Linked DNA regions of Homo sapiens: all the other regions are linked to region 3. The links are contacts of gene promoters, found by promoter capture Hi-C in human tissues and cell types (Jung and others, 2019). All regions are on one chromosome and are shown on one strand. The core of a region is centred on a gene start or on the middle of the fragment in contact, and the rest is flanking DNA. Distances in the headings are between cores, read along the strand shown.

Region 1 (2,926 bases), core at 138-2,637, 790 kb after region 3:
ATTGAATATATTGTTGCAGACCTATTTACTGTCATAATAAGATATCAATAATACACTGAAGACCGAATAAAAAGTCATTGAATATTATGCGTTTTTTATTCATTGTTGTTACAAATGTGTTTGAACATAAACATACAAAAAGGCCTGCAAGGAGATGCACCCCCCGCAAAAAAAATATCAGTATATATCTCTTAGTGGTCAGGCTACCAGTAATTATTTGCTTTCTTTTTAATTCCTATACCTATCTTCTTTTTTTGTTGCTGTCAAGACACAGTCTTGCTCTGTTGCCCAGGCTGGAGTGCAGTGGTGCGATCTTGGCTCACTGCAACCTGCACCTCCCGGGTTCAAGCGATTTTCATGCCTCAGCCTCCCGAGTAGCTGGGACATGCACCACTACTCCAGGCTAATTTTTTATATTTTTAGTAGAGACAGGTTTTGCCATGTTGGCCAGGCTGGTCTCGAACTTCCAGCCTCAAATGATCCACCTGCCTCGACCTCCCAAAGTGTTGTGATTACAGCCATGAGCCACCACGCCTGGCTCTTGTACCTATCTTCTAAAAAATAATGTAATTGACATGCAGTTGTTTTATAAACAGAGAACATGAAAAAGGATTCTGTATTTTAAAAAAATTCAAAAGAAAAAATATCAAAGAGAGTCCTGTGGTCTCTAAAGAACTTCCAGGTCTGAAAGACTGGTTTCAGATTGCCATGTTGCACAGAATTACTGGAAAAGATTTTTAAAAACATCTCCCCTGGGAGAGTCACCAGGTGATACTGATGTTGTCAGTCCCTGGCCAGCTAGAGGACACAGCCATGTAATTTAGCTATTGACACATCTAACTCCTCTGCCTCTTACTAAATATGGGACCTCAGGTTACTTGAATTTAATAAAAAAATTTTGTTTCTCCTGAGCGGCAACGTGGAATAGTAACATGAAGGATGGTAGTGAGGCTTAAATGGGGTAATGCCGAATCCAGTGCCTGGCACAAAGTAAAGCCTAGTAAGTGATACGTTGGTCTCCATAGCATCTAGCCCATGGTTCTCAACCTTATCCATAGGTGATTCCATACCACACGTCTTCCTTCTTCTCCCTTTGCAGCATATTCTAGACCAAGAGGAAGTAAAGAAAGCAATGGCTTAGTATGGCTGTTACTGTTGCTGCCCATTTGTGGAAATCATTGTTTCGAATGCTCTCTGCATAAAGTGATAACCCCCGATAAATAACTTATATTTTCACCCTTTTTTTTTTAAACCCTTTGCTGGTTTTCTTGTGGCTTTCCCATTATGGTGGAAATCCCCCTTAGAATTCAGGTAAGCCTGGAAGTTCATTCAAGAAACATTTGCAGTTGTGCCTGAAGCGGTCGGCTAGGGATTGATATGATCTTCATTCCCCAAAGAACTTGAAGCCAAGTGGAAAAGACAAATCAGTAAAATACCAGTTTCCACATCATAACATGTTAGAGGAATTTTTGTTGTTTTGAATATCTCACTTGCTGGGAGAGAGTAAAAGGGTAAACTTTATTTTTAAAATTCCTTTTTCAAATAGAGCAGGATATTTAAAAAGCAATTCTTATGGGGGAGTTACCAATTTTGTATAGAATATGGTTCAAACCACTTCAGAAGGGCTGAGATCAAAGAGCCTTAATCTTGAAGAGGTCACAGAGCTATGAGGCATTGTTCTTGGGGTAGCAAGCTTGGCAGCTCCTCGGGGGATCGGCTAAGCTGATACACACCCCTGCTCCTCCCATCCCTTCTCCATGTGTGCTGTACCACTTCCACACTTATGCCCCCAGAGTTGGGTGGCAGTGTGAGCAATGGAAAATTCCTTTGACCCCAGAACTGAGCTGTGAAGGTCATGCCACGGGGTGCATCTTTCCAAAATAGAACCAATGGATCTCAGCTCAGCTTCACTTTCTTTCTCTAAAGTCCAAGATACGTTCAGTAGCCCCATAATCTCCTCTGTCTTGAAGGGCTGCAGGGAGAATGGTTAGAATAGTCATTTTCCATGCAGAAGACTGGCCATCTGCTAAACTTGTAGACATCAAGATAATATCCTTTTATCTATCCCCCTAATCTTACCCTCCCTTTAAAAAACTATCCTAAACATATTATTTCATCCAAGGTATTTCTAATGATTTTGTTTCTGTGGGAATAGTGTATACGCATGAGGAACCCTATGTATTATAGTTTCAGGTGATTGAAGAGTGAAAGTAGAAAGTTGTAAAGTGCATATAAGTTATGGTTTCAGGTTTGTCATGAATTATTTTAATTTAACATGTGATCTGTAGTTATCTATGCAATATGATCATTTGTAACTCACATGATTGTAACTCACATGACAATGACTAAGGCAAAGATAAAATTTTTGTAGGCAAGGGCAGTTAACTATGCAATTTTGAAGCTTGTAATGTATTAGATTTTACTATTTTATTATTATTTCAGTTCTGATTCCCTTTCTTCTTCTTTTGGCTTATGGTTTGTGACCATTAGATGGCACTGTGCATCTCAAATATGGAAAGCACTTGGCATTCAAATGCTAGGCTATGCAGAAGAAAGTAACGTGCATTAGTTAATATTTTCATGCTATGGTTTCAATCAGGGTAGAAACATTTTATTTTTCATATAAAATTTGCCAATGTTACAGTTTATTAAGGAGAAATCCAGAATGTAATTCCACAGTCTTATGAAACTTACCTTGCATACAGAAACTATTCCTTTCTGTGTGACACAAGAATAATCCCTCTCAAACTTAGACTTGGGCCTGGGGCTCCTGAGTCAAATGAGAGAATACAGTTCCTTCACCTCCACTTCAGAGCATTATGCTGCTGATTTTCTAAGAATGTTGGTGAACTCATATTTGTCTGCTGCAGTGGTCTCCAACCTTTTTGGCACTAGGAACTGGTTTCATGGAAAACCATTTTTTCAT
Region 2 (2,856 bases), core at 352-2,851, 520 kb after region 3:
TGTTCTTTTGTATGAATTTAATTAAGATATATTTCCTAACTTAATGTGTATTTGGTAATCTTTTTGTTTCTTTTCTGTATTATATATAATATAATGTGTTAAAGTGCTAGCTAGTTCTTACATGAAAGTTTACTTGTGATTAAGAAAAAAATAATTTTCATAGTGAATAGAATGGTGGTGGCCTTTGTTTTACTGGCTTAATCCGTGTGGGTTTTCCCCTATAGTAAGTTCTGTGGTTGTATACTCTTAAAATATATACTAACATTCTCTAGAAAAGAAGCAATGTTTTGCATGTTTTATTATATTTGTATCTTGTATGTGAGGTCTTCTTTGAGAGAGAAACACGTTTGGTGAGTTCATATTTCTTAAAATATACATGATTCTTCAGACTGGAATCTAATGAAATAGTACTCCCATTTGAAAACCAAAGAGTTGAGGGTACAACAAAGGATAAAAGTGATCAGATGATTAGCCAGGGGCTAATAGAAATTCTGGAAAGAATGACAGATATTATATTAGAAAGAAATAGGATCTCATATTCACTGAAGCTTTCTACAGCTAAAGGTCCAAAAGAAATAATAGAAAATTACTGAAAGAGATGAATGTCTGAAACTTTAGAAATGCATGTGGTGTTGGATTAATCCAAGCAAGAAAGAAAGATGGGCAGATAATAAATTACATTTTATAGGAAGTCTGCTTTCCTTGTTTTCAAAGTATTTTGTCTTTTTTCTTTTCTGTCTCTCTCACAAGATATATTTAAGTAAGTCTAGGCCGGTTTCAGAAAATTCAGTTCACAATTTTTATCTTTGCACCATATGTGTAGAGTTCTTTGGAATCGGTAAAATATTATAAAAACTCCAAATCCTTGAATGGAGAAGGTTAGTCTAAACCTTCCTTCTGTTCTGTGCCAAATTGATAGCATTTTTCCTTACGAGAATATGAACAATACAGAACACATTTTCACATACAATCAGTTGTAATACCCCATAACTAAAAGATTTTGCAGAAATGTCTCAGTGGATTTTAGTCAACCCACTGAGACATAGCTGTACTTCTGCTAGGGAAAAAGAAATCGTTGTAAACTGAAAAAATATGTATATGTATATTTTCATCACAGAGAAGTGATTATTTAACTGTTCTAAATTTTACTTTGACATAAATACATGTTATTTTACTAAAAAAAATTGAGAGTGTATGTTTTTGTGTCTATAGTATTATCTATCTCCATACAAATTTACACGCAAAGTAGCATGTATCCTTTTTTTCCTCAAGTTAAATGGTCACATAGCATTGTAATCATGAAGTTCAGCTCCTTTCAAATGATGTTGATTGAGAAATATACATTCTTCTTAAACTATTTGAGCCTTTTAATCAATTTTTCCCCAGATTTTTGCCATTGAAACTTGACTTTCATTTTTGTTCTTAGCTTTTGTAAGTTTTGTAAGGAGAAAGTGAAATGTTTCCTGATATATAAATAAGTAATAAAATTAATGTGCACACAAAGTATACTCTTTATTCTTTTTTTTTTTTTTTTTTGAGGTGGAATTTTGCTCTTTCACCCAGGCTGAAGTGCAGTGGTGCAGTCTCGGCTCACTGCAACCTCCGCCTTCCAGTTTCAAGCGATTCTCCTGCCTCAGCCTCCCAGGTTAGCTGGTATTGCAGGCAACTGCCACCACGCCTGGCTAATTTTTGTATTTTCAGTAGAGACAGGATTTCACCATGTTGGCCAGGCTGGTCTCGAACTCCTGACCTCGTCAACCGCCCGCCTTGGCCTCCCAAACACTCTTTGTTCTTCATGGGCGTTTCCTTTTTGGCCCCAACACATACACACAAACATAATCTCTGGGAGGAAAGAGAATCTTACTCTGTTAAATTGAAGTTCTGACTACAAATCTTCTGAGTTTCTATATATTTAAGCTTAAACTCAAGTATTTACATATGAATGAGTTCTGTATTCTGTAACCATATTAAAACTTTTCCTAGTATTTTTATAGAATTTGTTTTTATAGCTACATCAGAATTAGGATCGTTATTAAAGTGCTATAAAAGGTAGTTATTTATCGGACTCTGTTAGATTAAATGTGAGAAATAATGCTAGCTTCAGGTTATGATTACATAATATAGATGAACCCTGTTAATAAAATGGAATAAAAGTTGGAAGTTTTGTCTTTTTAATATATTTAATGGTTTATATTGAACTTTCTCTAATCTTTTTAGAGACTAATTTTAAATGTAATTCATTATGTATTCTTTTTTATCCTATAATTATATGTGTTCATAATGCAGGGGTGGGTAGTAGAGAGAGGAAAAGAAAGGGACAGAGGGAATGAGACTTCTCTGTTGTGGGGAGGCATCTTTCTCTAGTAAGAAGGAACAGATAATCCAGTTACTAGCCATACCTATTAAACTTCTGTGTCTATGTCTGTTGTTGCTAAACTAACCTCTAATGCCTTAGACGGAGTGATAACATATAAGAGAGTTTTTGTAAAACTTTGTACAAAATTTCATTTAAAAGTAGCCTGTAATCAAGACTGTTTCTCTTACCTAGTTTGCTTTGGACTTGAAATGTAAACAAAAGATACTTAATGAACTTAACAATTGTTATTCTTCTCTACAGTTACTTTTCTGTGTGTGTGTGTGTGTGTGTGTGTGTGTGTGTGTGTATGTATCTTTGGTATAGTGTGTTATATGTTAATCTTCCATATGTTGTCATAGCTCTAATGGACATCTCTTTTCCTAGATGGATTATTGTTTAAATGGTTAAGAATCATAGAATTCTAATAGGAACACTATTTATTCTTTTGCAGCTATGTCATCTTATCTTTTAATTATTAAAACAGAGCTTCCTGCTGCTAT
Region 3 (2,907 bases), core at 88-2,587:
TTCTCACCTGATTTCTGTCTAGGGATGGACCTCCCCAAAACGGTTTTCCTGGCGTTTTTGTTATACAGCCCCCTACCAGTTATTTTCTTCAAACTAAACAAACCCCTACCACAGGCCCAGATGAGATCATGGTTTCTTTGACCCAGGCCTCAGAAAATGGTATGATGTGGACTGCCAATTGGGAATCAATAAAAGTTGCCAATTCACTCCACTAGCCCAAAGTCAGAGCCACCAAGCCACTCCTTCCTCACTACAGGAGGGGTCAATAATCAGCGGCTTAGGAAGTGCTTTCTGGGCCCCCGCATTGTCGTGGATGCCCTTCTGTATTGTATTTTTACTGAATTGTTTTTGAGCTAAAATGCCAAGGTTAGAGTTGTTATCCCCAGCTCAAGAGGTATAAGTTCTAACACAAGGTAGGGGCAAAATAAGCCTACAAGGAAAGGAGTTAAGTCGATATTTTAAAAAAGATCTAGGAAATAAGCTTTTAAGTTGCTGTCCTGACCTACCAATGACTTCTCGGCTCTAGATGTGGCTATGCTGCACTTTGTTCAAGTCCATTAAACTGGGGGAGGGGGAGAAAGTATATTTCTCCCCCTTTATTTGGAGGTCCCTACAGCCCACCCTTCTTTTCTTAAAGTGTCTGACTTCGTGGTCTGCATCTGCGTTATCAGACGTGAACATGTCCTTGTTGGCATTTAAAATTATTTTAGTGGGCTTTGAAGGGAGTAAGGCTAGAGTTCAAACTGACCTCTTCTACAGATCCCTGGTCCTGTTCCTGCTGCTCCAGATTTGCTTCCCACTCAGCTGCTTTGGCAACTGGAAAGGGGAAGAGGGAGGCATGCAGAGATGGGTACTTGGGAAAAATGAGAAGATCGCTTCCCCCCACCGGCTTCCTGCTCCCACCGCAAGGTTTGCTGTTTCGTTACAACTAAACTTGCGAATTCTCGGAGCATTTCAGTTTGGCCCAGTCCTCTTTGTCCTCTGGAGACCTCTCGACCGAGACAACGCATCGCCCCAAAGTGAATTCCTGAATTCCTGTGGCATCACTGCCTATTTGGTGGGAAAAAGGGAGGGAGGGGTAGAGCGGGGTGGGGGAGGGAGGAGTAGTGAACGCTGCCGCACTCGCCTCTCTTTTTCTCCCAGACACTCGCATGTCTTTTCAACCTCCAGGTTCTGCAAAATACTGAAGAAAAGTCCAGGAGCTAACGGCGGGCGCTGTCGAGCACGGGGAGGTGCTGAAATAGTCCTGGCGTGCTGATTCAAGCTTTGATTGGCAGAGCCACCCGGTGACTGACAGGGGGTCTCCATGGCGCCCGCGCCGCCAATCCGCCCACCCCAATAGCGGAGCCAGCTCGCCTGCCGGCGTGCCTGAGCCGAGCCGAGCCCGAACCCCAAGCCGCGGAGCCAGCACCTCCTCCAGTCGGGGTCGTCCGCTCCCGGCCGTTGAGCCACCGCCGCCACCCGGTAGTGTGTCCCGCTGCCCCAATCCGCCTCATCAACAAGCGCCTGGCACACTCAGCCAGGCCCGCGGGCATCTGCTGCGTGTCCCGCTCCGGGCTCAGTGCCCTCGCCGCCGCCGGCACTGCCTCGATGTTCCAGCTGCCCATCTTGAATTTCAGCCCCCAGCAAGTGGCCGGGGTATGTGAGACCCTGGAAGAGAGCGGCGATGTGGAGCGCCTGGGTCGCTTCCTCTGGTCGCTGCCCGTGGCCCCTGCGGCCTGCGAGGCCCTCAACAAGAATGAGTCGGTGCTACGCGCACGAGCCATCGTGGCCTTTCACGGTGGCAACTACCGCGAGCTCTATCATATCCTGGAAAACCACAAGTTCACCAAGGAGTCGCACGCCAAGCTGCAGGCGCTGTGGCTTGAAGCACACTACCAGGAGGCTGAGAAGCTGCGTGGAAGACCCCTGGGACCTGTGGACAAGTACCGAGTAAGGAAGAAGTTCCCGCTGCCGCGCACCATTTGGGACGGCGAACAGAAGACACACTGCTTCAAGGAGCGCACGCGGCACCTGCTACGCGAGTGGTACCTGCAGGATCCATACCCTAACCCCAGCAAAAAACGTGAGCTCGCCCAGGCAACCGGACTGACCCCTACGCAGGTGGGCAACTGGTTCAAAAACCGCCGACAAAGGGACCGAGCGGCTGCAGCCAAGAACAGGTCGGTACCTAGAGGCCTCCGCGCTTTGAGCGCACCGGGGAGGAGGCGGGTGGAGGCACCTCTGGCGCCCTTACCCAGTCCCTGGCGACTCCAATTCAGCAGGAGTTGGGAGCGCGGTCTGTCTTGGGTTAAGAGCCCTGCGTTCTGGGCTCCTGGCCGGGAGTTCCCTTGCCGGCTCTGCTTCCCCACCCGCTGGCTCCCCACGCCTGCGGGCAGCTGCAGCAGCTGGTCCCGGTCACCAAACCAAGGCTTCACTGGGACGGAGAGGGGAAGAGAAATAAAAAATTAAAATCCTACAAACAGTTAGGGACCCCAAGACCCAAAGCTAATTCTTGTCAGCCTGGGCACAGGCTCCTACTATTAATCGAAGCCTGGCTTATTAGCAATGTGTCGGTTTCATGTTAATTATCATTTTCAAAGCCCAGGTATATCCCTCCCTAATGCTTTGAAAACAGTTTTCAATGGACTTTTGAGAAATGGGAAGTCGAGTTTTCCTCTTCCCATGCGCTGCCTGCCACTCTTGTCTCAAAACAGCAAACTAGTCCGTGGGCCGAGGCTTTTCGTTTCCCGGAGTGTGGATCTCGATTAGCCAAACATTTTGCGGAAGAGCCCGGCCTCATCCCCCAGGCCCAAATGCTCCTTACAATCCTTTTTGCCTTTAGGTCGGGCCGACCCGATCCAACGCGATCGCGGGAGCACTTGCTCAGGCGTAAGCCCCAGGCAGACGCACCGTTAGAAATGGTAT

The links. Contacts are between HindIII fragments. The study calls those that stand out against the background at their distance.
Region 1: a contact is called between a fragment that was not itself captured here and the fragment with the promoter of SIX6 in region 3, in 1 of the 25 tissues and cell types used here (dorsolateral prefrontal cortex).
Region 2: a fragment that was not itself captured here is called in contact with the fragment with the promoter of SIX6 in region 3 in 1 of the 25 tissues and cell types used here (spleen).

The regions. Positions count from the first base shown.
Region 1 is chr14:61,294,626-61,297,551 of GRCh38, forward strand. It overlaps PRKCH-AS1 (PRKCH antisense RNA 1), which reads right to left. Exons shown (of 5, transcript NR_186042.1): 5 at 75-1,105. It also overlaps a transcript of PRKCH not described here. Among named protein-coding and RNA genes, the nearest start is that of TMEM30B, 15 kb to the left of the region's middle. The HindIII fragment of the contact is 3,903 bases long and covers 1-2,926 here.
Region 2 is chr14:61,027,638-61,030,493 of GRCh38, forward strand. SLC38A6 (solute carrier family 38 member 6) reads left to right here. Exons shown (of 16, transcript NM_153811.3): 6 at 2,808-2,856. Among named protein-coding and RNA genes, the nearest start is that of SLC38A6, 48 kb to the left of the region's middle. The HindIII fragment of the contact is 3,792 bases long and covers 1-2,856 here.
Region 3 is chr14:60,507,809-60,510,715 of GRCh38, forward strand. SIX6 (SIX homeobox 6) reads left to right here and starts at 1,338. Exons shown (of 2, transcript NM_007374.3): 1 at 1,338-2,162. The coding sequence starts at 1,591. It also overlaps a transcript of C14orf39 not described here. The HindIII fragment of the contact is 5,424 bases long and covers 1-2,907 here.